Linked DNA regions of Homo sapiens: region 2 is linked to region 1. Evidence: promoter capture Hi-C in human tissues and cell types (Jung and others, 2019). All regions are on one chromosome and are shown on one strand. Each heading gives the region's core, a stretch centred on a gene start or on the middle of the fragment in contact. The rest is flanking DNA. Distances are from core to core; before and after follow the strand shown.

Region 1 (7,036 bases), core at 1,997-4,496:
CAGAAGTCCGTCTGACACAGCTAGCTGGACTAAGGGATGTATTCGGTGGCAGAGGCCTGAACCAGGTTAGCCACTGGCTTCACCTAGACTCTGCACACCTGGGAGGACAATACCTGGACCCAGGCCTGGACTCCACTGCAAAGAACAGAAGAAGAGGGACTTCTTAGTAGAGCTGCCTTGGATGGAACTGCTTGTCCACGGAGATAGTGAGTGCCTGGGCACTGGAGCTGTACCTCCACCTAGACATTCACTTGTGAGAGCTGTGGCAGTAGGAATGGTTCAAATATCCAACAGGGAGTTGGACTCAAGAATCCAGAATAACCTTTCTCAAAGTATGTTCCATGGAACATTGGTCCTGATGTATCTGCAGTAAAAGGGTTCCATGGTCAAATAAGTTTGAGAAACCATGGTTAGCCTCTTCTCCCTTTTTCTCATATTAAAGACTCTGAGATTTTCTACAAGTGGCACACTCTGTTTTAGTATTAAGGGCATTTCCCAAACTTAATTGGCCATATAATCTTTATTATTTATTTATTTATTTATTTATTTATTTCTATTTTTGAGACGGAGTTTCGCTCTTGTCACCCAGGCTGGAGTGTAGTGGCGTAATCTTGGCTCACCGCAACCTCCGCCTCCCGGGTTCAAGTGATTCTCCTGCCTCAGCCTCCTGAGTAACTGGGATTACAGGCACCTGCCACCACGCCCTGCTAATTTTGTATTTTTAGTAGAGATGGGGTTTCTTCATGTTGGTCAGGCTGGTCTCAAACTCCCGACCTCAGGTGATCCGCCTACCTTGGCCTCCGAAAGTGCTAGGATTACAGATGTGAGCCACTGCGCCCGGCTGGCCATAGGATCTTTTTTTTCTCATTGTCTAACGGTTCTATGCAATTGGTATTCTGTGGGGTCTGCTTTTGGGCAAAGTGGCCTTGAAGGTTTCAATTTCTGGTCCTGGGCTCTGGTTTTTGGCCTTTTCTCTGCTTTTGGTTTGCTCACGTGCATATCACAGTGGGAATGGGAATTGAGTGATGATCTCTAAGGTCCCTTCCAACTTTAAATATAATACTTCTCTCACGGGATAGAGAGCCGCTACAAGGAATTTTATACAACCAGGAGAGGAAGGAGTTGCAGAGGGCAGACCTTAGTCATCATGGGGAAAAGTTTGTTATGACTCTCTCGTACGCCTTTCCAAGACAAAGAGCATGAACTCTGATTCCTTAGAACACTTATTCCCAGCTGTCCTGGCCCACTTCCAGGACCTGTGCAGGGCTGCTAGGAGGTGACAGTGTGCTGACAGAGAGGGGGCAGGCAGCAGGCTGTTTGGTGCATAAAGGAACTTTTTTAGCCTTTCCCCGCCCAACCCCAGCCCCCTCAGCCAGCTCAGGACCACGGACCCAGCCAGCTTGGTATCCCACGGGAAACCCACTGCCACTAGGGCCTCAGCGCTCTGCACAGGGCCACGGGATGCCTGGGTCCCACACATATTCTCGTTGTTCCTTCAGTTCTGGGAGTGGAGGGAGGACAGGGACAGAGCTGGGCAGGACCCTCCAGAACCCCCCAGCAAAGCAGCAGAGTGGGCACGGCCCTGAGCGCTGGAAGTTGTCAGCTAGAATGGGTGCTCCGTGCAAAGTCCTGGCTCTGCTCCCCGGAGCTTTGACCTTGGGCCGGTTTTTTACATCTCAGCATCTGAGTCTCCCCTCACCTTCTCATGGGGAGTGCCACTGCCTGTCCCTAGGGGGTAGGTGGTGAGGAGTAGCTGAAACAATGCCTGCAACTGACAGGGACTGGCGTATAGCAATAAATGTCAGCCACAGTTGCCACTGGCCTGTTGCGTGTCTAGAATCCCACCAGTGAGGCTCCACCTTGTCCTCGTCTGGTTCTCGGTTAAGACATGGTACACCCCATCCCTATCATCTGGAGTGGTGAGTTTATTGCCTCCATCTGCATCCTGCTTACAGGGGGAGAGGGCTGTGAGAGCGAGGCTCCACCTTGTCCTCGTCTGGTTCTTGGTTAAGACATGATACACCCTGTCCCTATCATCTGGAGTGGTGAGTTTATTGCCTCCATCCCCATCCTGCTTACAGGGGGAGAGGGCCGTGAGAGCTCTGGGGCCCTGGGGTGGGGGTAGGGGGTCGTGAGGGAAGAAAGGCACTGAGTGTATTGAGCTAGTGATCTGAGATCCAACACTGTCATTCGTGGATTTGTTTGTGGAGTTTCTGCACTGGACACTGCAGGGACCGAGGCAGGAGTGAGTAAGATGTGTCCATGGGAGGTCTGTGGCTGAGCAGGCAGAGGAAACGTGGCATGAATAATATGACCCTCATCAGACTGTGCAGTGGAGCCCTAGAGGACAGAGAGAGCTTCTCAGGGTGTGTGTGTGTGTGTGTGTGTGCGTGTGTGTGTGTGTGCATGTGTGTGCATGCATGTGCATGCATGTCAAGGACAGAAAGGCAGGAATTGAGAGGTGCTGAGTGACAAGAGTGTCACAACATGTGACAGGCAGGCTGGTGTTGGGGGTGGGGTGCCTTAGAGGATCAGCGTTTCAGTGAATGCCAGTTAGAAAACCACCTACGACTGTACTGAACCAGCCTCCTCCTGGTGCTTCCAGACAGTGTGCCTGGTGTAAAGAGAGCTCACCCACCAGCAGCTGGAAGGCCTGCAGGAAACAGAGGCCTCCGTCCAAGGAGGGAGTCAAGAATCTGGATTCTAGTCCTGCCCCCTCGTGGCCCTCGACAAGTCCCTTCTCCTCCCTGGGGCTCTGTTTTCTTGAACTGGTCTCTCTGTGTGTATGCATTTCCAGACTGCAAGAAAAGTGTCTGGGGCTCCTCCAGCAATAAGGGTCAGTAACTGGCAGCAGGATGGGGCTCCGCAGGGGAGAGGCCGACGGTGCCCCCTACTTCCCAGATCCCCTCTGCTGGGTGGGCCACCCATTCTCCAGCTGGTATAATTGTTCATTGCTAAAGGCTCACATCTCCTCCCTTCTGGGAGTTTAAGTAACACCGCTCCAACCCTACAGCCAACAACTGATTGGCTAGGGGTATAAGAGGCCGGTCCCCTGGCTTCAAGGGGGGACCAGGTCTGTACACCTGAGCAACCCCCCAACTCCACATGGAAACACAAAATCACTCCCCTCTGTTCCTGCCATGGGGGGACCACTCACCCCAGGACCTGGGACTGCAGCTCTGAGCTTCCAGCTGTGCTTTGCCCTCTTGCGCTGCCGGAGCTCCCCAGAGACAGCGCTGGGAAATCAGCACATCTTTACAACATTCGACTTTGGATCTTCTCCCTCCTGGACCCACGCCCTGCTTCATGCCCCGGTTGCATGGAAGCTGTCAAAGTCCTTCCCCCTCCCGCCAAACCCCGGCAGGTGAAAATCTTAGTGCCCTTCTTTATGTCTCTCCTTGACAGTTGTAAATTTCCTTTGGCAAGGGAAATGTTGATAATTTAATCTGTTTTCAGGGCATGACTGATGGAGTGAAAGTGGTTGTAATCGTCTTAGATCCTGGGAGTGGAGTAAGAAGTTGAACCTTTTGAAAGAGTTCTTTTAATTCTGGAAAATTTCAAGCACTCACAAAAGTAGAGAGAATGGTTCCATGACACCCCTGTGCCCATTCGCGAGCTACAGCCACCATCAGCAGCTCTTGGCCAATCTTATTCTCCCCCAGAAGTAAGCAAAACTCAGATATCTTCCCATTTTATTTGTAAGCATTTTAGTATTTATCTCTAAAAGATATGGACTCTTTAAAAAAAAAGTGTGACCACATGATCAGAACAAAAAAATTAAAACCGAGTCCTGGTGCTCACTGAGGTCTATTTACGCTCAGAGTTTAACCCTGCAGCCCCACAGAGCTCTGTTGAACATTTGGAAACTAGTCTTTTAAAGGGCCGGGCGGTGGCTCATGCCTGCAATCCCAGCTCTTTGGGAGACCAAAGTGGGAGGATCACTTGAGCCAAGAGCTTGAGACCAGCCTGGGCAACATAGCGAGACCTCATCTCTACAAAAATTCAAAAATTCAAAAATGAGCCAGGTGTCTTGGTCCCTGTCTATGGTTCCAGCTGCTCGAGAGGCTGAGGTGGGAGCATCACTTGAGTCCAGTGAGCTGTGATCACACCACTGCACCTCAGTCCGGGCAACACAGTGTGACCCTGTCTCAAAAAAAAAAAAAAAAAAAAAAGAGGAAAGGAAAAAAGAAACTACTTTCATAGAGCAGTGGTCCCCAACCGTTCTGGCACTGGGGACCAGTTTCGTGGAAGACAATTTTTCCATGGGCCGGGGTGGGGATGGGGGATGGTTCTGGGATGAAATTAGTCCACCTCAGATCATCAGGCATTCGATTCTCATGAGGGTACCACTTAGATCCCTTGCATGTGCAATTCATAATAGGGCCCGTTCTGCTTTGAGAATCTATTGCTGCGGCTGATCTGACAGGAGGCGGCACTCAGGTGGTAGGTCATGCTTGCCTGTTGCCCCTCACCTTCTGCTGTGAGGCCTGGTTCCTAACAGGCCACAGACTGGTATAGCTCCATGGCCTGGGGGTTGGGGACCCCTGTTGTGGGGGACAAGCTTAACCCTAGGAGTCAGAAAAACCTGTTCTTATCTAGTTTTTGGTACTTACCGGGTATCAAATAACTAGTCGGAGCTTCAGTTTCTGATTATCTCACAAATGTCTTGTTACTTTTGATTTGTTCAAATCAGGATCCAGGATCCAGGCATGGCCCACAAATTGCATCTGACAGAATCAGTTGCCACATCTTGTGCCCTGATCTTTCCATGAGCACGGTGCTGCTCTGGGAAGTGTGAAGGTCTTCCGTGAGGCTGTTCTGGTGGAGGAGGTGTGGAGTGGGCTCCAGTGACCCCCAGATCCCATGACCCCCAGATCCAGTGACCCCAGATCCAGCGACCCCCAGGTACCACAACCCCCAGATCCAGGGACCCCCAGATCCCACAACCCTCAGATCCTGTGACCCCCAGATCCCATGACCCCCAGATCCCACAACCCCCAGATCCCGTGACCCCCAGATCCTGTGACTCCCAGATCCTATGACCCCAGATCCAGTGACCCCCCCGATCCAGTGACCCCCAGATCCAGCAACCCCCAGATCCCACGACCCCCAGATCCAACAAACCCCAGATCCAGCAACCTCCAGATCCCACAACTCCCAGATCCAGCAACCCCCAGATCCCACAACTCCCAGATCCAGCAACCCCCAGATCCCACAACCCCCAGATCCAACAACCCTCAGATCCCACAACTCCCAGATCCAGCAACCCCCAGATCCTGTGACCCCCAGATCCAGCGACCCCCAGATCCAGCGACCCCTAGATCCCGCCTTGGGCTCTTCCTTTTCCATCTGGCTTCTCTCTCCACATCGCTCTGCTGAGGGTGGACAGGGAAGCGCGAGGCAGAGCCAGCGGCTGTACAGATAGTCCCTGATGCCAGGACTGACTGACTTTGACTTGCTGAGCACAGCATAGCACTTCAGAGCTGACTCTGCATCTGGGATGCCTGAGTTCAAATCTTGATTCTACCTCTTAATGTTGTGTGACCTTGGGCAAGTTATTTGACTTTGGTGGGCCTCAGTTTTCCCCTCTATAAAATGGGGATAATAGTACCCATCAAGTTGCTGGAGGGTTAAATGAGTTAGAATATGTAAAATGCTTAAAAGCAGCGCCTCACACGTGTCAGTGGCCGTGCCTAATTATTTTAGTTGCTGTGTGCTTCCGGGGTCGCTCGTGCTCAGCTGTCATGCATGTTCAATGTGGCATAGACTTCGATGTCACACACACAATCAGGCAAAAGGCCACTCACCCCTCTCAGACCTGCTGGACTATGCAGGCTTCCCCTGAGGGGTAGGGGGCCAGGCTGAGCAGCAGCCAGTAGCTTTGAGAGAGACCTGTTTCTTCTGAAGGCACTTGCCTGCCCACTGTAATGCTGAGACACGTGAGGCCAATAATCACTGTCATTGGTTGCCTTGCACCCGTTCATCACCCACGACTTTAGCTCCTCAAACATGGGGTGAGTGTTTTTCCAGGACCAGTGCTTTTTTGCTGAGTAGGAAGACAGCCCCCCACCCCCCTGATACCCTTGTTCATTAACTGATCCGTTCATTGATAAAACAGCTAATGAGCACTTACTTGGGCCAGGCGCTGTGTGACATGCTGGGGATCCAGGAGTGGGCAAGAGGCTGCCCCTGGCCTTGAGGAGCTCAGAATTTGTGGTAGTCAGAGCAATGGCACCTCAACAATGTCCACATCCCTAGAATCTGTGAATACGTTACCTTATGCAGTGAAAAGGGCTTTGCAGATGATTAAGTCAAAGTTGTTGATAGGGATAGATTATTCAGTGGGCCCAATGTATTCCCAAGCGGGAGGCAAGAGGGTCAGAGTGAGTGGAAGAGCTTGGCAGGTGGAGGCCAAGGTCCCAAGCCAAGCAAGGCAGGTGGCCTCTAGAAGCTGGAAAAGGCAAGGAAGCGGGGCCTCCCTGGAGCCTCCAGAAGGAACTCAGCCCTGCCGACACCTGGATTTTAGGACCTCTGACCTCAGAACTGTCTAATAATAAGTCTGTGTTATGTTAGGCCACTAAGTTCATGGTAATTTGTTACAGCAGCAATAGGGAAAGAATATGAAGTCCATTGAATAAGATGAACAGGGAGACAGGTAACTGTGCTGTGGACGGGTGAGTGATGTGATACTGAGATGTGGGTGTGGCGAGAGCCTGGAGGAGTTCCCCTAATCTAGAAGGGGTTGGGGGATGAGGCCAGATAAGGCTTCCTGGAGGAAGTGGTATCTAAATGAAGGTCTGAAGTGGGGTTGGGAGCTAAGCAGGACAAATAGGAGGGTTGGAAGCAGGCAGAGAGCAGCCTTCCAGGCAGATGGAGCTCACGGAGACTCAGGATGGCTCGGGGTCAAGTGTAAGTGGAGGGTGAGGAGGGATGGGGCTGGAGAGGTGAACTGCTACATCTCCAGGGCTTTGTAAGTGTTGCTAGAGCATTTGGACTTTAGCCCAAGGGCAAAGGAGAGCCTGAATAAGTTTAGGCA
Region 2 (7,553 bases), core at 1,360-3,859, 600 kb before region 1:
CTTGGGGGCTGGGTCCAGTGGCTCATGCCTGTAATCCCAGCACTTTGGGAAGCTGAGGCAGGAGGATCAATAGAGCTCAGGAGTTCAAGACCAGCCTGGACAACACAGTGAGACCCTGTCTCTACCCAAACAAAAAAATTTAGCCAGGCATGGTGGTGCACACCTGTAGTCCCAGTTACTTCGGAGGCTGAGGCAGGAAGATTGCTTGAGCCCAAGAGGTAGAGGGAAGAGGCTGCAGTGAACCATAACTGTTTAAAAAAATAAAAATAAAAAAAATAAAACTTGGACCCTGAGTCTCAAGTGAGCTTTCCTAGTAGACAACATTGCACATATGTTATCAGAATTTGTTGCTGGAGGAATGATGAACGTCTTGTGTGATTCCCCCTGAGATAGACCTCTTGGAAGCATGCTGCTAGTTTCTCCTTGACTGTGCCTCATGTATCTTTTCCCTTTGTTGACCTTGCTTTGTATTTCACTGTAATAGATCAGAGGCATGAATACACCTGTATGCTGGGTCCCATAAGTCCTTATAGCAAATCATCCAAACTGGGTGTGATCTTGGAGACCCCTGACACAGATATGTTATCCTTTTTATATGTCACTGGATTTCATTTGCTAATTTTGTTCAGGTTTTACATATGTATCATGAGAGAGATTGGTCTGTAATTTAACTTTGTCAAGGACCTTGTCAAGGGTGGGTATTAAGGTTAAGGTGGCTTCATCCAATAAAGCGAAAGGTATTTCTTCTTTTTCTATTCTCCGGAAGAGATAGTGTAAGCTAGGTAATATTTCTTCTTCAAGTATTTGAAAGAATACACTGATGAAGCCATCTAAACCTAAATTTTTTTTTTGGTGGGGGGGAGTTTAAAATAATGAAATCCCTGTACTATATATAAGAACATTCAGATATTCTACTTCTCGAGTAAGGTTTGGGTGAATTTGTGTTTGCATAAACCTTGAATAAGGTTTGGGTAAATCATTTTGTATACATTTCCAGATGTATTGGTGTGAAGGTTTTCATAACATTCCTCAATTCTTTTTTTTTCTGTATTATAAGTCAGTAGTCAGGCTGGGCGCAGTGGCTCATACCTGTAATCCCAGCACTTTGGGAGGCCAAGGCAGGCGGATCACTTGAGGTCAGGAGTTCAAGACAGCTTGGCCAACATGGTGAAACCCCATTTGTGCTAAAAATACAAAAAAATTAGCCAGGTGTGGTGGTGCATGCCTGTAGTCCCAGCTATTTGGGAGGCTGAGGCAGGAGAATCGCTAGAACCCAGGAGGTGGAGGTTGCAGTGAGCCAAGATCATGCCACTGCACTCCAGCCTGGCAACAGAGCGAGACTCTGTCTAAAGAATAATAATAACTAATTAATTTTTAAAAATTAAAAAAGTCACCAGGCAATCCTTAAATATTACTTAATGGATGTAAGAACTGCAGTGATGTCCCTTTTCTTTCATATTTTTTTCTTCAATAGTTTTGATAGGTGTTTATCAATTTTATTAACGTTTTATTTTTGTTTTTTATTTTTTTTTATGAGACAGGGTCTCACTCTATCGCCCAGGCTGCAGTGCAGTGGCACGATCTTGGCTCACTGCAACCTCTGCCTCCCAGGCTCAAGCAATTCTCGTGCCTCAGCCTCCTAAGTAGCTGGGACTACAGGCATGCACCACCACACCTGGCTAATTTTTTTTTTTTTTTTTTTGAGACGGAGTCTTGCTCTGTCGCCCAGGCTGGAGTGAAGTGGTGCGATCTCGGCTGGCTGCAAGCTCCGCCTCCCAGGTTCACGCCCTTCTCCTGCCTCAGCCTCCCGAGTAGCCGACTACAGGCACCCGCCACCATGCCCAGCTAATTTTTTTTGCATTTTTAGTAGAGACGGGGTTTCACCGTGTTAGCCAGGATGGTCTCGATCTCCTGACCTCATGATCTGCCCGCCTCAGCCTCCCAAAGTGCTGGGATTACAGGTGTGAGCCACTGCTCCCGGCTTTTTTTTTTTGTATTTTTAGTAGAGACAGGGTTTTGTCATGTTGCCCAGGCTGGTCTCGAACTGGTGAGCTCAGGCAGTCCACCTGCCTCGACCTCCCAAAGTGCTAGGATTACAAGCATCAGCCACCATGCCTGGTTTCTTATTATTATTATTATTATTATTTTATTTTTTTGAGACAGAGTCTTGCTCTGTCACCCAGGCTAGAGTGCAGTGGTGTGATCTCGGCTCACTGCAGCCTCCGCCTCCTGGGTTCAAGCAGTTCTCCTGCTTCAGCCTCCCGAGTAGCTAGGATTACAGGCGCCCACCACTGCGCCCGGCTAATTTTTGTATTTTTAGTAGAGATGGGGTTTCACCATGTTGGCCAGGCTGGTCTCGAACTCCTGACCTCATGATCCACTCGCCTCGGCCTCCCAAAGTGCTAGGATTGCAGGTGTGAGCCACCGTGCCCAGCCTTATTAATTTTTTTAAAAACAGCTTTCGACTTTCTTTTTCTTCATCGTATAAAATTTGTTTTCTATTTTACAAATTTCTGCTCTTTATAATTTCCTTCTTCTTACTTTCTTTAGGTTTTTTGTTTTGTTTTGTTTTGTTTTTGTTTTTGTTTTTTGAGACAGAGTCTGACTCTGTTGCCCAGGCTGGAGTGCAGTGGTGCGATCTCAGCTCACTGCAGCCTCCACCTCCTGGGTTCAAAGGAATTCTCCTGTCTTAGCCTCCCAAGTAGCTGAGATTGCAGGTGTGTGCCACCACACCCAGATAATTTTTGTATTTTTAGTGGAGATGAGGTTTCACCATGTTGCCCCCAGGCTGATCTTGAACTCCTAACCTCAAGTGATCTACCCGCCTCAGCCTCCCAAAGTGCTGGGACTACAGGCATGAGCCACTGCGCCCAGCTGGGTTCAAAGTGTTTTCTAATTTCCCTTATGATTTCTTCTTTGACCCATGGGCTATTTATAAGTGTATTTTATTTTATTTATTATTTTATTTTATTTTATTTTATTTTATTTTATTTTATTTTATTTTATTTTATTTATTTTAAGACAGACTCTCTGTTGCCCACGCTGCGGTGCAATGGTGCGATCTCAGCTCACTGCCACCTGTGCCTTGCAGGCTCAAGCTATTCTCATGCATCAGCCTCCCGAGTAACTGGGGCTACAGGTGCGTGCCACCACGCCTGGCTAATTTTTGTATTTTTAGTAGAGGTGGGGTTTTGCCATGTTGCCCAAGCTGGTCTGGAATTCCTGAGCTCGAGTGACATGGTATAGGCGTGAACCACCGTGCCCAGCCTTATTTAATTTCTGAATATTTAGTGGTTTCCTAGTATGGCAGTTATCAACACTGCCTCAGCTCCAGATTCACTCTCAGTACCTGTTCTGTTCCATGATAACCGGATCGACGCTAAGCATTTATCCCGTACAGTGAGTACAGTGTTAAGCTTTGTCAGCAGAGGGCACTAGAGGGCTATTGCAGAAACAAAGAGGCTCTCCCGGGTTCCAGTGTGCAGCCTTCGGATTTTTCTAAGGAAACCATGGATGTCAACTATGACCGTGATTAGTTACAAAAATGATCAGTTACAAAAACGAGGACTGTAGCAGCGATGCATATTCTTCTTTGCTTCTTACATGCATGTGTTTATTTGTATGTACTGACCATGTCTTTTGCCTCCCTTTGTTATTTTATGTGCAAATTGTTGGAGGTCAACTTTACAATCTAGTTTTTAGGTAATAGACACAGGTAATAGTTTTTAGGTAATAGTTTTTAGGTAATAGGGATCACGACAAATCTGTGGAGTAATCTAGCCAGCTATGGATACAGTGACTGTTTGGACTGTGTGTCTTATCATTTGGGGGAAGGCTGAGAACTTCACTTTTAGAGAGGAGATATCTTGTTAGTAGGAATGTAGCTACTAAGGGAGTTCAAAATTTGTGTAAAGAGTGCATATGGTAGTGGAGTAGCTGGAAGAATGGTTTCTGCCAGTTACCTATTTTTTGCCTCTCAGCTTCATTATTTACCTACCCTTCGGTGTCTGTTAAGCGATAACTAGACTCGAAGCATTTCTCCCTACAATGAGTACAATGTTAGGCTTTGTCAGCAGAGGACGCTAGAAGGACATTGCAGGAAGGAAAGGGCTTGTCTTCTGGTTCCAGTGCACTCCAGCTAGGGGCCTTGCTCCATCGTCCATCAGCAGGGCACGCCTTGGGAGATCTGCTGGTGTTCCACTCCAGCTGCACACCCAAAGCCGGCACTCCCTTGGCAACTTTGCCGATCTGGTCTAGGCCCCGTGACCAACTTGCTGTGGACTCCTTGTCATGGTTGCCGCTTACTCCAGGCCTTCCACCTGGGGCAGCTCCCTAACTCTGTGCACCTGCCCCCTAGTCTTGGCTTACCTATGCCATGGATGGTTTTCCCCAAAGCCCTCCAGGCATGGACAACGTGCGGTCAAGGCTGTGCCCCAACTTCCTCTGTGCGTCTGCTCACCAATCTGAGTTCTTCTGCATCCCAGAGGGTTGATTCCCATCCTCCATATCCTGTGTGGACACCATGCACTCCAAGCACATGGGGCATTCCAGCTCTTTTGATGCATCTGTCTGACAGCTGGGGCTCACCTGCGACCTGGAAGGTTGTTTCCTAGGGGCCTCCCAATGCGGGTGCTATGTGCTCTGGGCAGGTGGTGTTGCTATGTGCTCTGGGCAGGTGGTGTCCCCATGTGCTCTAAGCACCTGCCTACCAGCCTTAGCTTGCTTTTGGCCTGGAGGGTTGTTTCTTGCCTGGCAACTGTGAAACAGCTCTGGCCTGGGCTAATCAGTGAACTTCACACTGCCCAGTGAGTGGCATGCAGTGAAGTCTGAACCCCTGCCTTGGGGGTGGGGACCCTACTGAGTTTGCCCTTCCTTGGGTACTTCCCTCTTTACTTCCTTATAATTCCTCTCTTATTATAGTTTAATACTTTTTTACTTTTTCTATTTTTTTTTTTAATTTTTTTGAGACAGGGTCTTGCTCTGTTGCCCAGGGCTGGAGTGCAGTGCTGCAGTCATAGCTCACTGCAGCCTTGACCTCCTGGACTCAAGCAATCCTTCTGCCTCAGCCTCCCAAGTAGCTAGGACTACAGGCACATGTCACCATGCCTAGCTAATTTTTTCTTTTTAATAGAGACAAGGTCTTGCTATATTGTCCAGCCTGGTCTCAAACTCCTGGTCTCAAGTGATCCTCCTGCTTCAGCCTCCCTAAGTGCTGGGACCGGCTGGGCATAGTGACTCACTCCTGTAATCCCAGCATTTTGGGAGGCCGAGGCAGGCGGATCAGTTGAGGTCAGGAGTTCGACATCATTCTGGCCGACATGGTGAAACCCCGTCTCTACTAGAAATACAAAAATTAAACAGGAGTGGTGGCACATGCCTGTAATCCCAGCACTTTGGGAGGCTGAAGTGGGATGATTGCTTGAGTTGCTTGAGGCCAGGAGTTTGAGACCAGCCTGGTCAACATAGTGAGACCTTCATCTTACTAGAAAGAAAAAATAGAAAAAAATTAAAAATAATCTTTATGTTTACCTAAATACTATCTTTTTTTTTTTTTTTTTTTTTGAGATGGAGTCTCACTCTGTCACCCAGGTTGGAGTGCAGTGTCGAGGTTTCAGCTCACTGCAAACTCCACCTCCCGGGATCAAGCGATTTTCCTGCCTCAGCCTCCCGAGTAGCTGGGATTACAGGCATGTGCCACCACACCCAGCTAATTTTTGTATTTTTAGTAGAGACAGGGTTTCTCCATGTTGGCCAGGCTGGTCTCCAACTCCTGACCTCAGGTGTTCCGCTTCGGCCTCCCAAAATGCTGGAATTACAGGCGTGAGCCACCGTGCCTGGCCTATCTTTTGTTTGTTTGTTTGTTTGTTTGTTTTGAGACAGAGTTCAGGCTGGAGTGCAGTGGCGTGATCTCGACTCACTGCAACTTCTGCTTCCTGGGTTCAAGTGATTCTCCCTCTGCAGCCTCCCGAGTAGCTGGGATTACAGGCATGGGCCACCATGCCTGGCTAATTTTTTTGTGTGTTTTTAGTAGAGACAGGGTTTTGCCATGTTAGTCAGGCTGGTCTGGAACTCCTGACCTCAAGTGATTCACCTGCCTTGGCCTACCAAAGTGCTGGGATTACAGGTGTGAGCCACTGTGCCCCGCCTTAATGTTTCTTATAGTGCAGCACTAATTCTCTTAGTTTTCTTTTATTTGAAAATGTTTTTATTTCAGCTTCATTTTTTTTAAATTTTTAAATTTTGTTTTATTTTTAGTAGAGATGGGGTTTCACTATATTGGCCAAGGTAATCCTGAACTCCTGACCTCAGGTGATTCACCCACCTCGGCCTCCCAAAGTGCTGGGATTACAGGCATGAACCACTGCACCCAGCCCGAGGTTGCCTGTCTTTTAATTTACTGAGATAATATTTTCTTTTCTTTCTTTCTTTCTTTTTTTTTTTTTTTTTGAGACGGAGTCTCGCTATAGCCCAGGCTGGAGTGCAGTGGTACCATCTCAGCTTACTACAACCTCTGCCTCCCGGGTTCAAGCGATTCTCCCGCCTCAGGCTCCCGAGTAGCTGGGACTATAGGCACATGCCACCACGCTCGGCTAAGTTTTGTATTTTTAGTAGAGACGGGGTTTCACCATATTGTTCAGGCTGATCTTGAACTCCTGATCTCAGCTGATCCGCCCGCCTGGGCCTCCCAAAGTGCTGGGATTATAGGCGTGAGCCACTGTGCCCAGCTTTGAGATAATATTTTCATTGATGCTTTCATATCCTTGTTTGTTAATTCCGATATCTGGACCATCTCTTTGGTGGCACTTGTAAATGTTGGAGACTCTGGTTTCAGTTACTTTTCCCCAAAGAGTGATGTTTTTTAATTTTATCAGGCGGTTAGCTCAGTTACATATATACTACAGTCACCCTTATTGAGTTGGCAGCTCCAATTTTCAGTTTAGATCTTTTTTATTTTATTTTATTTTATTTTTAGAGATTGGGGGGTGGTTCCTCACTATGTTGCCTACACTGGTCTTGAACTCCTGGCTTCAGCCTCCTGAGTAGCTGGGATTATAGGCGCAAGACACCACACCTGGCCACTTTAGATCTTCTGTCTTTAACTGAGCTGCGTGGAGTCTGAGTTCCCTATGTGGGGTTCAGAGCTTGGGCGGAGGTGTGGGCAGACAGAATGTGGGGATTTCCCTCTCTGGCTCTTTCCCTTCTAAGATTCCCATCTTCCTCTCTAGTGGTTTCAGTTGCACACACGCAGGACCCTGTTTCAATATTGAGAAAGAGGCCGGGCGCAGTGGCTCATGCCTGTAATCCTGGCACTTTGGGAGGCTGAGGCGGGCGGATCACGAGCTCAGGAGTTCGAGACCAGCCTGGCCAACATGGTGAAACCCCGTCTCTACTAAAAATACAAAGAAATTAGCCGGGCATGGTGGCGGGCGCCTGTAATCCCAGCTATTCGGGAGGCTGAGGCAGGAGAATTGCATGAACCCGGGAGGTGGAGGTTGCAGTGAGCCGAGATCGGGCCACTGCACTCCAGCCTGCGTGACAGAATGAGACTCCGT

What was found. The method cuts DNA at HindIII sites, captures the fragments that hold promoters and counts their contacts. A contact is called where the count stands out against the background at its distance.
Region 2: a contact is called between a fragment that was not itself captured here and the fragment with the promoter of MS4A10 in region 1, in 1 of the 25 tissues and cell types used here (pancreas).

The regions. Positions count from the first base shown.
Region 1 is chr11:60,781,543-60,788,578 of GRCh38, reverse strand. MS4A10 (membrane spanning 4-domains A10) reads right to left here and starts at 3,246. Exons shown (of 8, transcript NM_206893.4): 1 at 3,158-3,246. The HindIII fragment of the contact is 17,691 bases long and covers 1-7,036 here.
Region 2 is chr11:61,381,629-61,389,181 of GRCh38, reverse strand. No RefSeq gene overlaps it. Among named protein-coding and RNA genes, the nearest start is that of TMEM216, 7.2 kb to the left of the region's middle. RefSeq lists a silencer at 3,359-3,518. The HindIII fragment of the contact is 9,589 bases long and covers 1-7,403 here.